Regions from separate parts of the Homo sapiens genome. Here regions 1, 3 and 4 are each linked to region 2. Evidence: promoter capture Hi-C in 16 types of primary human blood cells and fetal thymus (Javierre and others, 2016). All regions are on one chromosome and are shown on one strand. Each heading gives the region's core, a stretch centred on a gene start or on the middle of the fragment in contact. The rest is flanking DNA. Distances are from core to core; before and after follow the strand shown. Region 1 has its middle 510 kb from the start of LINC02270. Region 2 holds the start of NKX3-2 (NK3 homeobox 2). Region 3 has its middle 620 kb from the start of RAB28. Region 4 overlaps LOC107986181 (a long non-coding RNA gene).

Region 1 (2,970 bases), core at 363-2,862, 810 kb after region 2:
ATTCATGATTTATGCACTTTACCTTACACGTAAACAAAATTAGCAAAAAGTTAATAGTGAACTCTATCACAGGAATTTTTCTTTCAGTTTTTTTAATTTTTATTTTTTGAGACAATGTCTCACTGTGTCGCCCAGACTAGAGTGCAGTGGAGAGATCTAAGCTCACTGCAACCTTTGCTTCCTGGGCTCAAGTGATCCTCCTGCTTCAGCCTCCTGAGTAGCTAGGATTATAGGCATGTGCCACCATGGCCAGCTAATTTTTGTATTTTTTGTAGAGACAGGGTTTTGCCATGTTGCACAGGCTTGTCTGAACCTTCTGAGCTCAAGCGATCCACCCACCTTGGCCTCCCAAAGTGCTGGGATTTCAGGTGTGACCCACTATGCCTGGCCTCTCAGGAAATTTTTTTAAGAATATGGTAAACAGAAGAGGCTCAGATAACATAAATTTTTAAAAACTCACATATATTCCTTTGTTTGCTTTTAACAAACATAAATTTTAAAACTCCTGTTATTAGTTGAGATGTGAATACAACCCATTATTCCTTAGTAGAAGTTGATATTTTCAACATTTTCTATTATTTTATGATCATATTATCCTCAAAGTTATTTTTTAGGTATGTAATGTCTGTGCATAGTTCAAAGTCCAAATGATGTAAATCGCAAATAGATGCAAATTTTAATTAAGGTTTTAGAGGTTATTTGTATTATTAGTAATTTTTCTGGGTTATGTGGTTGGCCTAGCAGTGTTCATTATATTTCAAATAAATTATTAAAAACAAATAATACAAATTACAAAATGGAAAAGATGGCAGTGTGTGAAGCAATAATAATAATATGGCTTGAACTTAGAGTTATGAGTAATTCAATTCTATCTTTAAGTACAACATAAAATAATAAAATAATAAAACAACAGCAGCAAATTCTATTAAAAAGCGATTTTACCTCTTACTTTTTCTTCTCCCCTTATGTATTATTTTAGAGAAATTCTGATATATTTTATTCTTTGTCTTTGATTTGCCTTTTCCGCTTAACACTGTGTCGTGATCTCCTTCCATATTTATTCATATGGAAGTGCCTCACCCTTTTGAATGGCTGCTTAGCCAATTATTGTACAAATATGCCATAATCTATTTAACCAGTATTCTATTAATGCACATTTACATTAGGCTCAATAGTGTGATATTATAGACAATAATGGCCTTAATATCCATGTATATATAAATGTCTTTGTCCACAAATGTCAGGGTATGTAGAGGACACATTTCTGCAAGCCAAATAGCTGAATCAAATGGTACGTGCATCTAAATTTTGGTAGCTACTGCAAAATCCCATATAGTTTGAACCAATTTAAATTTCCACTAACAATGTACAAGTATATTTTTTCCCTTACCAACAGTGTGTGTTCTCAAACTTTTTGATCTTTGCCAAGCTACATCAAAAATGGTATTGCATTGTATTCGTTCCTTTTCATACTGAAATAAAGAACTACCTGAGACTGGGTAATTTATAAAGGAAAGAGGTTTAATTGACTCACAGTTCTGCATGGCTGGGGAGGCCTCAGGAAACTTACAATTGTGGCAGAAGGTGAAGGGGAAGCAAGGCATGTCTTACATGGTGGCAGGAGAGAAAGAGAGTGAAGGGGGAACTGCCACACACTTTTAAACCATCAGATCTCATGAAAATTCATTCATTATCACAAGAACAGTATGGGAGAAACTGCCCCCATAATCCAATCACCTCGCCACTAAGTCCCTCCCTCAACACATGGGCATTACAATTTGAGATGAGATTTGGGTGGGGACACGGAGCCAAACCATCTCATGCATTGTTGTTTTAATTTGCTTTTTGCATATAACAAGTAGTACTGAGCATATTTTCAGGTATATAAGAGCCATTTTTAAATTTCTATTTACCATCTGCCCATATATATGTGTGTGTGTGAGTATACACACACACACACACTCACACACAGCTGAAATCATCAAACCATATAGAGCTTATTGTGATGAAAGGAGTAGGATGGGGACATAATTTGATATTTATTCCAGTTTATTCCACTATCATCTATGGAACAGGATCTCTTTATTCTACTGATGTACAATGTTACATTTTCATACTCTTTTTTTCTTTATTTTTTCTAAAAAAAAAAGGACATATTTTCATATTCTAAGCTCTCATATATGTTTGAATTTCTCTCTGGATGCTCTTCCATTGATTTGTGTCTGCATATACATGTGTCATTATTACTCTTAATAAGCTCTGTGATATTTAATATTATATAGGACCTGTCCACTGTATCACTCTCCCTTCCACCCAGAATATTTCTGGTTGTTGTTGTTTGAGAAAGAATCTCCTTCTGTCACCCAAGCTGGAGTGCAGTGGAATAATCACAGCTCAGTGCAGACTCAACTTCCCTGGGCTCAAGTGATCCTTTCACCTCAGCCTCCCAAGTAGCTAGAACTACAGGGGCATGCCACCACACCTGGCCAAATATTCCTGGTTCTTTTAGAATGAGGTATGTTAGTTAAACTTCTGGACTCTGAAGACAGAATGTTTGGGTTCAAATACAGCCTTTGCCATGTACTAACTGTATAAACCTGTACAAGTTATTTAACCTCTCTGTTTGTTGAAGTCATCATATATAAATATGGGAATAAAATAATGTTATTGATGAAAGTGTATCATTTAATACATCTGTAATGCTTAGAAAAGCACTTCAGGGAAATGCAACAGTACATTTATTATCATTCTTGTTTATTTGTTTTTCCACATGAAACTTAGATTTATTATTGCCTAGTTCTAAAAAATATACTTTTTTATTGTTATTGCATTAAATTTATAGATTTAGAAAGAATTGAAACTCTATGATATTGAGTCTTTTTATCCAAACACAAGTATGCTTTTTTGTTTATTTTAGTCTTGTTATGGGTCTCTCTTAGTAGTTTATTAAGTATTTTCTCATCTCGATCC
Region 2 (3,319 bases), core at 495-2,994:
GCTGCAAAACCTCATTCTGAGACTGAGAACTATGAATAGTCAGTGTATTTCCTTCTGCGGTGCAGAAAAAGAACAACCAAAAAGAAAGCAACAAGGGGAGATGTTATTTATTTTAATGACACCAAAACTACCAATCCTAGCAATTTAATAAATTAAAATCATAGTCCTTTAAATGTATTTAATGGTTCAAGTTTGTGTATTTGGTGTTAACTCTCTGGTAAAGTTTATGGAAAACAGTGAAGTACGTTAATTGAGCAAATTTTATATTAAAAAAGGAATAACACATTTTAAAATGTTTTTATATACCCACAATATTTGTGTTTCTTAGCTTGGTTCCTACTATTACATAATACAATGCATTTCTTATTTTTTAAAGAGCAAAAAGTGTTGTCACTTCTGGATCACTTTATGGTAATTCCTAGGTATACTTCTAAGCAAACAAACATATCTATTTATAATTTTATTCAACTCACAAGTAAGAGATATTTAAAAAAAACAAATTGAAAGTTTTTTTTTTCTTCCTGATGCAAAACTTAACAAACTCCAATTAAATTCAATATTGGTCTGCCAGGGAAACGACCATAAAATTTACAGAAATTCTCCCAAAGATGCCTTTCAATTCTTCTCCTGACTTTAGTTCTAACTATACCATTTTTTTATAATTCCTCTATAAAAATCGAATCAAATCAAAGACGACGAGGAAAGAAAAATATTTCTAGAGTGATCTTAATTAACTGATCATTTCAGCAAAGAGCATTAGCAATGAAGAAGCGGCGAAACTGTAGGGAGAAAAAAAAGGATGCATTTTGTTCTTCGTGTTTATAATCCTTCCTAGAGAACAGAAACTACGAGCATGATTTATGGAACTGCATTATCTTGGATTTTCTCCGCAGATTTGACTCAACTTAGTATCAGTGTTCTGTTAAAGCGCTGGAATAAGTGGATACATCTGCAGAGGTAAGAAACGTGGTTTGGGTCGGATGAGCCTCCTTGTTGCTGGAGGGTGCTTCGAGGACCAGGCTTAGGAGAGAAGGGGTTAAGTCAGACCCTGTCTTTAGCGGCGCAACGTGCCCAGTTTTGTCTGTTAAAGTCAACGTCGCCCAACTGGAGCCAGCCAATGGACGGCCGGGAGCGCCCGGGACAGCCCAGTGGAGGGGTGTGGCCTCAGGCTGTCACTCAGCAGTGAGGAATGACACCCGGGCGGGAGGGGGGTGGTACAGTGGAACGCAAGGGAAGGAAAGAGAAAAGAAACAGATAAAACCAGGGCAGGGGGTAAAAAAGTTCCCCGCGCCTCTCGGAATCCAGCGGCCGCGGCCGCGGCTACCGCCGCCGCCGCCGGGGGTGGGCTCCGGAAGAGCCTGCCCAGCAGGGAAGGGGAGGACGGGCCAGGAGCGAAATCCTGCAGGCGAGGAAGGGACAGACGCGCAAAGAAAAAGTGACTCGGGCTGTGCGCCCCGGCGGCGCTCGGGAGGGGACTGCTGCCACGGAGGGGCCCCCGCCAATCCTCCTTCACGTCCCCCGAGGGGGCAGACCCCAGCCCGCCCCTAAGGGCGAGAAGCGATGAGATAATCCAGCTGAGCTGCGAAAGGAGAGCGTCTGGCTCTGGATTCGGGGGGAGGGGGTCTCCGGGCGGGGTGGGCCTCTAAGGTGGGGGCGAGGGTCGGCGCTGATCCTGGGACGGAGTGGGGCGGGAGCTGCTGGGCCGCGCAGCAGTGGGCGGCGGCGGCCTCGCACACCCAGCTCACTCGCGCTGCGGCCGCCGGCGCTCTCTGTCCCGCTCGGAGCTGCTCGGCGCCCCAGCTGCCCGCCCCGCCGGCCGCTCCTGCCCGCGGCGCAGATGGCTGTGCGCGGCGCCAACACCTTGACGTCCTTCTCCATCCAGGCGATCCTCAACAAGAAAGAGGAGCGCGGCGGGCTGGCCGCGCCAGAGGGGCGCCCGGCGCCCGGGGGCACAGCGGCATCGGTGGCCGCGGCTCCCGCTGTCTGCTGTTGGCGGCTCTTTGGGGAGAGGGACGCGGGCGCGTTGGGGGGCGCCGAGGACTCTCTGCTGGCGTCTCCTGCCGGTACCAGAACAGCTGCGGGGCGGACTGCGGAGAGCCCGGAAGGCTGGGACTCGGACTCCGCGCTCAGCGAGGAGAACGAGAGCAGGCGGCGCTGCGCGGACGCGCGGGGGGCCAGCGGGGCCGGCCTTGCGGGGGGATCCTTGAGCCTCGGCCAGCCGGTCTGTGAGCTGGCCGCTTCCAAAGACCTAGAGGAGGAAGCCGCGGGCCGGAGCGACAGCGAGATGTCCGCCAGCGTCTCAGGTCTGCTGCGGCTTCGCGGGGATGGGGGCCGGGCTGAGGGGATGGACGCGGAGGGCAACCACGCCGAGTGGGGTGGTCGGCTTGAGCACCCTGCGCCCTGGGGCTCGGAGGCTGGCCAAATCCCGAAGTTCTGCGCTCTGGCGCGAGCTGCTCTATCACTTCGGGAACTGAGCCCGCGAGAGACCGGAGTAGCTCCTCAGAGCCCTACGTCCTGGGGTGAGGCCTGAGACATCCTGGGCCAATGTGCATTAGACTGGGTTGGGAGAACCGCTGCCCCTTGCGTTCGGGAGTTTTTGAGTTCGTCGCCAGTGCTTTCTGCCGTGTCTGTCCCCAAATCCCCAAAATCAGGGAAGCGGAAAAGTGAGGGGTTCAGAGACCTCAGGTAGCCAGTGACCTAGCTCTGGACCAGAGACCTGCCAGTTCAAGGTCCCAGGGCCGGGCCCCACAGTAGGTGGATAGGTGGTGAAGAACACCTCCGAGTGGGCCAGAGCTGAGAATCTGCAGAACTAGAGCTTTGGGGAAAGGGCTGGTTTGGCTTTCTCAGACCCCAGGTCTGGGAGAGCAGCCCTAGGCCGAAGATCCCGGATTGGGTCTTTAGTTCATCCTGGAGGCAGGAGAGAGGCCTCCTCAGCCGTGGCCTGTCCTGTCCTGTGGTCTGGAAGACCCGGGTGCCTGCCCTAGTTGGGTACAAGCTTCTGTAGGCCTCAAGCACAGGGGACCGCTGGACCTTTCTGCTGGAGTTCTTCGGAAGGGCGGGTACGAGACCGAGAAGCTGGTGTGGGATCAGGGTCCAAAAACTCGATGCAGGGGCAACCCTCCCTCTTTACTCTCCAGTCCATCCTCTCATCTAAGGCCTCGGCTCAGCCTGTTTCCATGTCTCTCACAGCAATCCCAGGCGGCTGAGGGTGAAAGATTCTAAATACCTTTGGCCCCAGGATCCGCCTCCACCTTCCCTTACCTGCACCAGACAAGTGTGTGCTGCGAGGACGCGCGCGTGTGTGCGTGTGAACTAAGTG
Region 3 (3,277 bases), core at 677-3,176, 680 kb after region 2:
GGATCCAGCTGGCTACATTCTCTTAGTTTCCTTATTTCAAAATTCCAAAAAGCTTGTGATGATTTACCTAGTTCATGTTTTCCTTGCTAGCCATAGAATTTTAGTCAGCCTTTGGGTAAGCTGAACTTGAGCAAGTGCCCACCAGTGAGAGACAGTCACTTGCAAAACATGTCTAATACAATTATGTTATTTTAAGATTGTGCAGAGTAAATAACATTATTTATAAAGTGAGCACTCAATGAATTTTTATTCTTTTCTCATTCATTCATTCATCAAACATTTATGAAACATCCACTTCCTTTTAGGCATTGGAGATATACACATAAAAATAACAGAGTGCTTAAAGGAGACACAGCTAGTCAGATAAGCATTTGTAAATAGTCCAGAACACCATGGGAGTGTAAACAGAACATGAACACCTACCTCAAGCTCAAGCCAACACTTGATCTGAATCTTAAAGTCTCAGTGGGAGTTAACTATGCAAACACAGATGACAGAGGAAGGGCATCAAATTATGATGGAATAGTGTGGACACATGTAGATGCAAGAAACAGCCTTTGTGTTTCACAATTCTAAGAAGTTCCGTTAACATTTTATTCTGTGTGCACCAATTTTTGCAGGACAGCAATCATGTGGGAAACAGCATAATTTAATTTCATTAGATTTTGGAAAAGAAAGAGCTGGAGAAGCCTACCCGTAGAAGAATGTTCTGGATTTTAGAATAATTAACACAATGCAGGGGATTCAGATATGGGAAGGATGAAGTAAGAATACTCCATCCTGGATTTTCCATGGAAAGCAGCTATAAAACCTGGACTGAGTGAATGGAGAAGATACTTTGAGTACTCTAAAAAATAACTAGTAGCAGGAGGGGTGGCGAAGAAGGCCAAAATTCAATGTATCACTGAATCAGCAGTGAGTTTTTCATTCTTTTTTACTTTGGTATCCACGTGGCCTGGTGCAACCCACCCCAGAACATGAAAGAACTCAAGAGAAGTACTCTCGTTACAGCTTGAGTAGTAAGGACAGATTTCCTAATGGCCAGAGAGAATACAGTAAATGCTTATTTGCAAAATATCTTATATTTCAGCCTGTAGCTTCTCACAAACACCTAGAATTCTGAGTAGAAGCTTCCTGTTGGATACAGAAGCTGTGCTTTGAAGAGGGAGGAGAAAACTCTTATTTCTATACCCCCACCCCTACCTTTTCTGTCCTCCACAGCTTAACCCCAGACCTGTGCACAGCAAAGGGGAGTATGGAAGACTCCGGTGAATAAATCAGCTTTTAGAATAGTAGGCTAAAAAGAGGGGTCCTAGGAAATGAGAAGATTTTGAGATTTCAGAGAGGAAGGACTTCCAAAAATTCACCTAAAAATTATTTGTGAATTTCTGGACACACCCCAAGCTGTGCATGCATGGATCTACTAACACTAAAAGCTTAAGATTATCCATATGGTTTAAGCAAGACTTAGTATCTCATAAGGTAATACTCAAAATATCTACAACACAATCCAAGCATTACTCAATATATAAAGTATCAGGAAAATCTTAACTTGAGAGAAACAGAAAATCAACAAATGCTAGTTTGAATTATCTGGCAGACTCAAAATAGCTATTTTTAAAATGCTTCAGTAGGTTAAGGTAAACGTTGTTGAAATAAATGGGCAGGTAGAAGGTCTTAACAAAAACAAATAGAAGATATAAAGAAGAAATGACTGGAAATTAAAAACAGAAAAACACATTAACCAAAGTAAAAGTATCACAGAAGGGGCTTACTAGCAGAATGAATATGCTAGGAGAAAAAGTCAGTGAACTTGAAATATGTCATTAGAATTTATTTAATTTGAAAAACACAGAGAGAAAAGATGGAGAAAAAGGAACAGAGTCTCGGAGACTAATGGGAAGATATAAAAATCTAACATTTATGTCAAAGAAGTCCCAGAAGGAGATGAAAAATAGTGTGCAGAGAAAATATTTGAAGAAATAATAGTAAGAAAGCCTCTCAAATTTGACAAAACCCATAAACTTACAGATTTAAGAGGTTGAACAAACTCCAAACAGAAAACAAACGAACAAACAAACAAACAAATTCACACTTGGAGACATTATAATCAAGCTGCTGGAAAGTAAAGAAAAAATATTGAAGACGACAGAGAAAATGATGCATTACTTAGGAGAGCAACAATTTCAATGACTGTAGATTTCTCATCAGAAACCATGGTAGCCAGAAAGAAGTAAAAAAAGCATTTTTAAAGGGCCTAAAGAAAAACACAGTCAAACTCCATCGAGTGAAAAATTCCTGCAGAAATGACAGTGAAATAAAGCTGTCTCAGATAAAGAAGAACTAAGAGAATTTGTTGCCAGCAGACTTCCTCTAAAATAACTGTTAAAGAATTTTGTTTTCAGAACAAAGCTTTTCTTTTAAAAAGAAAACTATCGTTAACATTTAGCTATATTAGTATCAGACAAAGTAGACTTCAGAGCAAAGAACAATAGGGATAAAGTGAGACATAACATAATGATAAGGTCAATTTCTCAAGAAGCCATAAAAGTCCTCAATGTGTAAAATAAGTACTGACAATAGAATTTCAAAACATATGAAACAAAATTTGACAGAACTGAAAGAAGTATACAAATCCACCATTATATTTAGATGTATTACCTCTGCTCTCAGTAATTCAACCTCCGTTCTCAGTAATTGATAGATTCAGTGGATACTGAGTCTGCAAGGATATAGAAAAACTGAACAACATCATCAAAGCTGGATGTTTTCACACTGACGTTTTACATATCAACCAACAACCGAAGAATGTACATCCTTGTCTTCAAGTGGACAGAGATCATTCACCAAGATAGAATGTATTCCAGGTCACAAAACAAATTTAAAAATTAAAATCACTTGAAATCATACAAATGTTACTCTTTCATTCTAATAGATTAAACTAAAATCAATAACAAAGATTACAGGAGACTCTCAAACACTTGAAAATTAAATAGGCTGGGTGCAGTGGCACATGCCTGTAATCCCAGCACTTTGGGAGGCCCAGGTGGGTGGATCACAAGGTCAAGAGATCGAGACCATCCTGGCCAACATGGCAAAACCCCATCTCTACTAAAAATACAAAAATTAGCTGGGCATGTTGGTGTGTGCCTATAGTCCCAGCTACACGGGAGGCTGAGGCAGGAGAATCGCTTGAACCCGGGAGGTGGAGGTTGCAGTGAGCCGAGATCGCACCACTGCACTGCAGCATGGGGACAGAGTGACACTCCGTTTCAAT
Region 4 (2,959 bases), core at 158-2,657, 830 kb after region 2:
TTTGGTGGGGACACACATCCAAACCACATCAAGGTGCTATTTAAGTATTTGTTGCGATGAATGAAAACGAAGTGGTTGGTTTCTTTGTCTCCCGGTTTTCCTGGCCTGACAAAGGAGAGCTTCTGGGATCTGCCGTGAGTGCTGCTGTCTTCCTCTCTTCTCACTCCTTGTCTGGCATCTGAGCCACTTGGAGCCCACACAGAGCTGCATCCCCAAGCCCACCCTGCCCACATCCAACTCTGCTATGTGTTCTGAACATGACTTGTGTTACTCATACCCTAACACTTGACTACTAGGCAATAGGATCTTTGACGGCTGAGAAGAAGGTAGATTCTCTTATTCAAAGTCATGTTTTTGATACTTTGTATAGCATATGACACAGACTAGGTTCCAAGCCAATATTGATTAAATGAATGAGGGTACATTAAGGGATCTATCCTCCCATCTGCTCCCAAACCCAGATTTATCTCTGCGGTTTAGTTCTAATACAGTTTCTTGTGGAAGGCTTCCAAGATCGTTTCCGTACCTCTTGGATATGGTCCCACTCTTTTGTAATCCCATAATGTCTTCACAGACAGATAAAGATATTTCTTTATCACACCATGTTGCAATTCTCTCTTTATTGATCTCTGTTGCTCTCCTAAATAATTATGGGCTCTGTGAAGGTGATGGTTTTAACTGAGGCTTCCTAGTTTTCCTGACTCTTGGGGCTTTACTGGCAATAGACACTGAAGATATATTTGTTGTATAAATAAGCAAGAAAGAAATATGTAATGTTTTGCAGCATTATTATATCCTTTGAAAGTGGGAAGTTATTCCCAATGACAAGCATTCGTTGAAATGCCACTAGCTCTCTGAAGAGGTGCAACTGGGAAGAAAAGGAATAGCATAAGCAAAGAAGCAAATTATAAGATGTACCAGTCCTTGAGGTCTAGAAAATGCCTTTGCAAAGCGTCTATTGATTCCCAGAAACCTGTTAACACTCAGATGACAATAAAAAACGTGCAGACAAAGATAGCAAGGAAAATGAAGCTTCTTAAATATATCCAAAGCCATATGTTTTGGGTAGGGATATTGGGCAAGTAATTCCTTGGGAGAGATGGCCACTACTGATAAATGGCGTTTGCATGAGAAAGTGAATAACAAGTTGTGTTTCAGTGCAAGAATGCTTCACAATGTCTGACTCTTAATTATTGTTCTTGAAAAAATGGACATTTTAAAAACTCATACGTGTTGTATATGACACATACACATACACACACAAATAAAAAGATCACATATATACATTGATCAAGGTTACCTGGCTAATAAATGTTAGACTTATGATTCAGAAATGTCATTCTGTGTCTCAGGTTGCCAAATCAATTTGTTCATTCAGAAACACTAGTGGCTCAAAGACACCTACCACAGGCCAAGTACTTTACAAGGCACTTAAGGATTAGACCTCGCCCTTGCCCTTAAGTAGTTACAATCCAGTAGGAACAGTAAGTCATATCAAAAGAGCTATTATGAAATATATAATGCAGCAGGATCTCAAAGTGGGGGCACTTCCAAGTGTGGGATCAAAGTTTCTTCCCATTCCCACAAATCAATAAATACATGAGTGTAGAACTGAATTGAAACAATATTCCTTTTGTGTGGTATTAGACTATCTTATTTTGAGTTTTATTCCATAGCCGTGAGTTAGGTGGATGAGTCAAATGAAACTCAAATACTCAAAATTACAAGTTTACCTCTATTTAAAATATGTTAAGTAAAATATGTTAGGTTATAGGAAGCTTAACGTTTAAAGTCTTAGAAAGAAAGCTCTTAGCTTATAAATTTTAAAAATTGACTTTTCTTTATTTCTTGTTTTAACTTTTATTTTAAGTTCAGGGGTTTAAGTGCAGGTTTGTTACATATGTAAACTTGTGTCATGAGGGTTGTACAGATTATTTCATCACTCAGGTATTAAGCCTAGTACCCATTAGTTGGTTGTCCTGATTCTCTCCCTCCTCCCATCCTCCACTCTCTGAAAGGTCCCAGTGTGTGTTGTTCCCCTCTGTGTGTCCATGTGTTCTCATCATTTAGCTCCCACTTATAAGAACATGTGGTATTTGCTTTTCTGATCCTGCATTAGTTTGCTAAAGATAATGGCCTCCAGCTCCATCCATGTTCCTGCAAAGTATATGATCTTGTTCTTTTTTATGGCTGCAATAGTATTCCATGGTGTGTATGTGCCACATTTTCTTTGTCCAGTCTATCATTAATGGACATTTAGGTTGATTCCATGTCTTTGCTATTGTAAATAAGTGCTGTAATGAACATATGCATGCGTCTTTATAATAGAATTATTTTTATTCCTTTGTATTTGTATACCCAGTAATGGATTACCAGTTTGGATAGGGATATTTAGCAAGTAATCCCATGACAATCCTAGTAATGGGATTGCTGGGTTGAATGTTATTTCTGTCTTTAGGTCTTTGAGGAATTGCCACACTGTCTTCCACAATGGTTGAACTAATTTACACTTCCACCAACAGCGTATAAGGGTTCCTTTTTCTCCATAACCTTGCAAGCATCTGTTACTTTTTGAGTGGGTAAAGGACATAAACACACACTTTTCAAAAGCAGACATACATACAGCCAACAGTTATATGAATAAAAAGCTCAACATCACTGATCATTAGAGAGAGGCAAATCAAAACCACAATGAGATACCATATCACACCAGTCAGAATGGCTACTACTAAAAAATGGCCTTTATATAGGAGTTGGCTAAAGCCAAATGTTGGTGAAGTGTTGTTGGCAAATGTCAAGTGTGCTATAAGATATTAGACTTATGAACTTCCATAAGTTGAATAGGCATAAGTGGCAGAATTCTAACCAGCCAATGTAAAAAAAGATGAACTTTTACATTTCATTAGTCTTTGTATTAGTGAGGGTTCTCTAGAGGGACAGAACTAATGGGAGATATATA

Evidence for each region. The method cuts DNA at HindIII sites, captures the fragments that hold promoters and counts their contacts. A CHiCAGO score of 5 or more calls a contact.
Region 1: a fragment that was not itself captured here is called in contact with the fragment with the promoter of NKX3-2 in region 2 in 2 of 17 cell types (M1 macrophages and total CD4 T cells); the score reaches 7.1 in M1 macrophages.
Region 3: a contact is called between a fragment that was not itself captured here and the fragment with the promoter of NKX3-2 in region 2, in 3 of 17 cell types (M1 macrophages, endothelial precursors and M0 macrophages). The highest score is 11.1, in M1 macrophages.
Region 4: a contact is called between a fragment that was not itself captured here and the fragment with the promoter of NKX3-2 in region 2, in 5 of 17 cell types (activated CD4 T cells, M0 macrophages, non-activated CD4 T cells and 2 more). The highest score is 10.4, in activated CD4 T cells.

The regions. Positions count from the first base shown.
Region 1 is chr4:12,736,606-12,739,575 of GRCh38, reverse strand. No RefSeq gene overlaps it. Among named protein-coding and RNA genes, the nearest start is that of LINC02270, 510 kb to the right of the region's middle. The HindIII fragment of the contact is 6,284 bases long and covers 1-2,970 here.
Region 2 is chr4:13,542,933-13,546,251 of GRCh38, reverse strand. NKX3-2 (NK3 homeobox 2) reads left to right here and starts at 1,744. Exons shown (of 2, transcript NM_001189.4): 1 at 1,744-2,303. The coding sequence starts at 1,838. It overlaps LINC01096 (long intergenic non-protein coding RNA 1096), which reads left to right. Exons shown (of 1, transcript NR_015450.1): 1 at 1-176. The HindIII fragment of the contact is 11,352 bases long and covers 1-2,997 here.
Region 3 is chr4:12,858,731-12,862,007 of GRCh38, reverse strand. No RefSeq gene overlaps it. Among named protein-coding and RNA genes, the nearest start is that of RAB28, 620 kb to the left of the region's middle. The HindIII fragment of the contact is 976 bases long and covers 1,439-2,414 here.
Region 4 is chr4:12,715,577-12,718,535 of GRCh38, reverse strand. The region is part of intron 2 of LOC107986181 (a long non-coding RNA gene); the gene reads right to left. Among named protein-coding and RNA genes, the nearest start is that of LINC02270, 490 kb to the right of the region's middle. The HindIII fragment of the contact is 746 bases long and covers 1,035-1,780 here.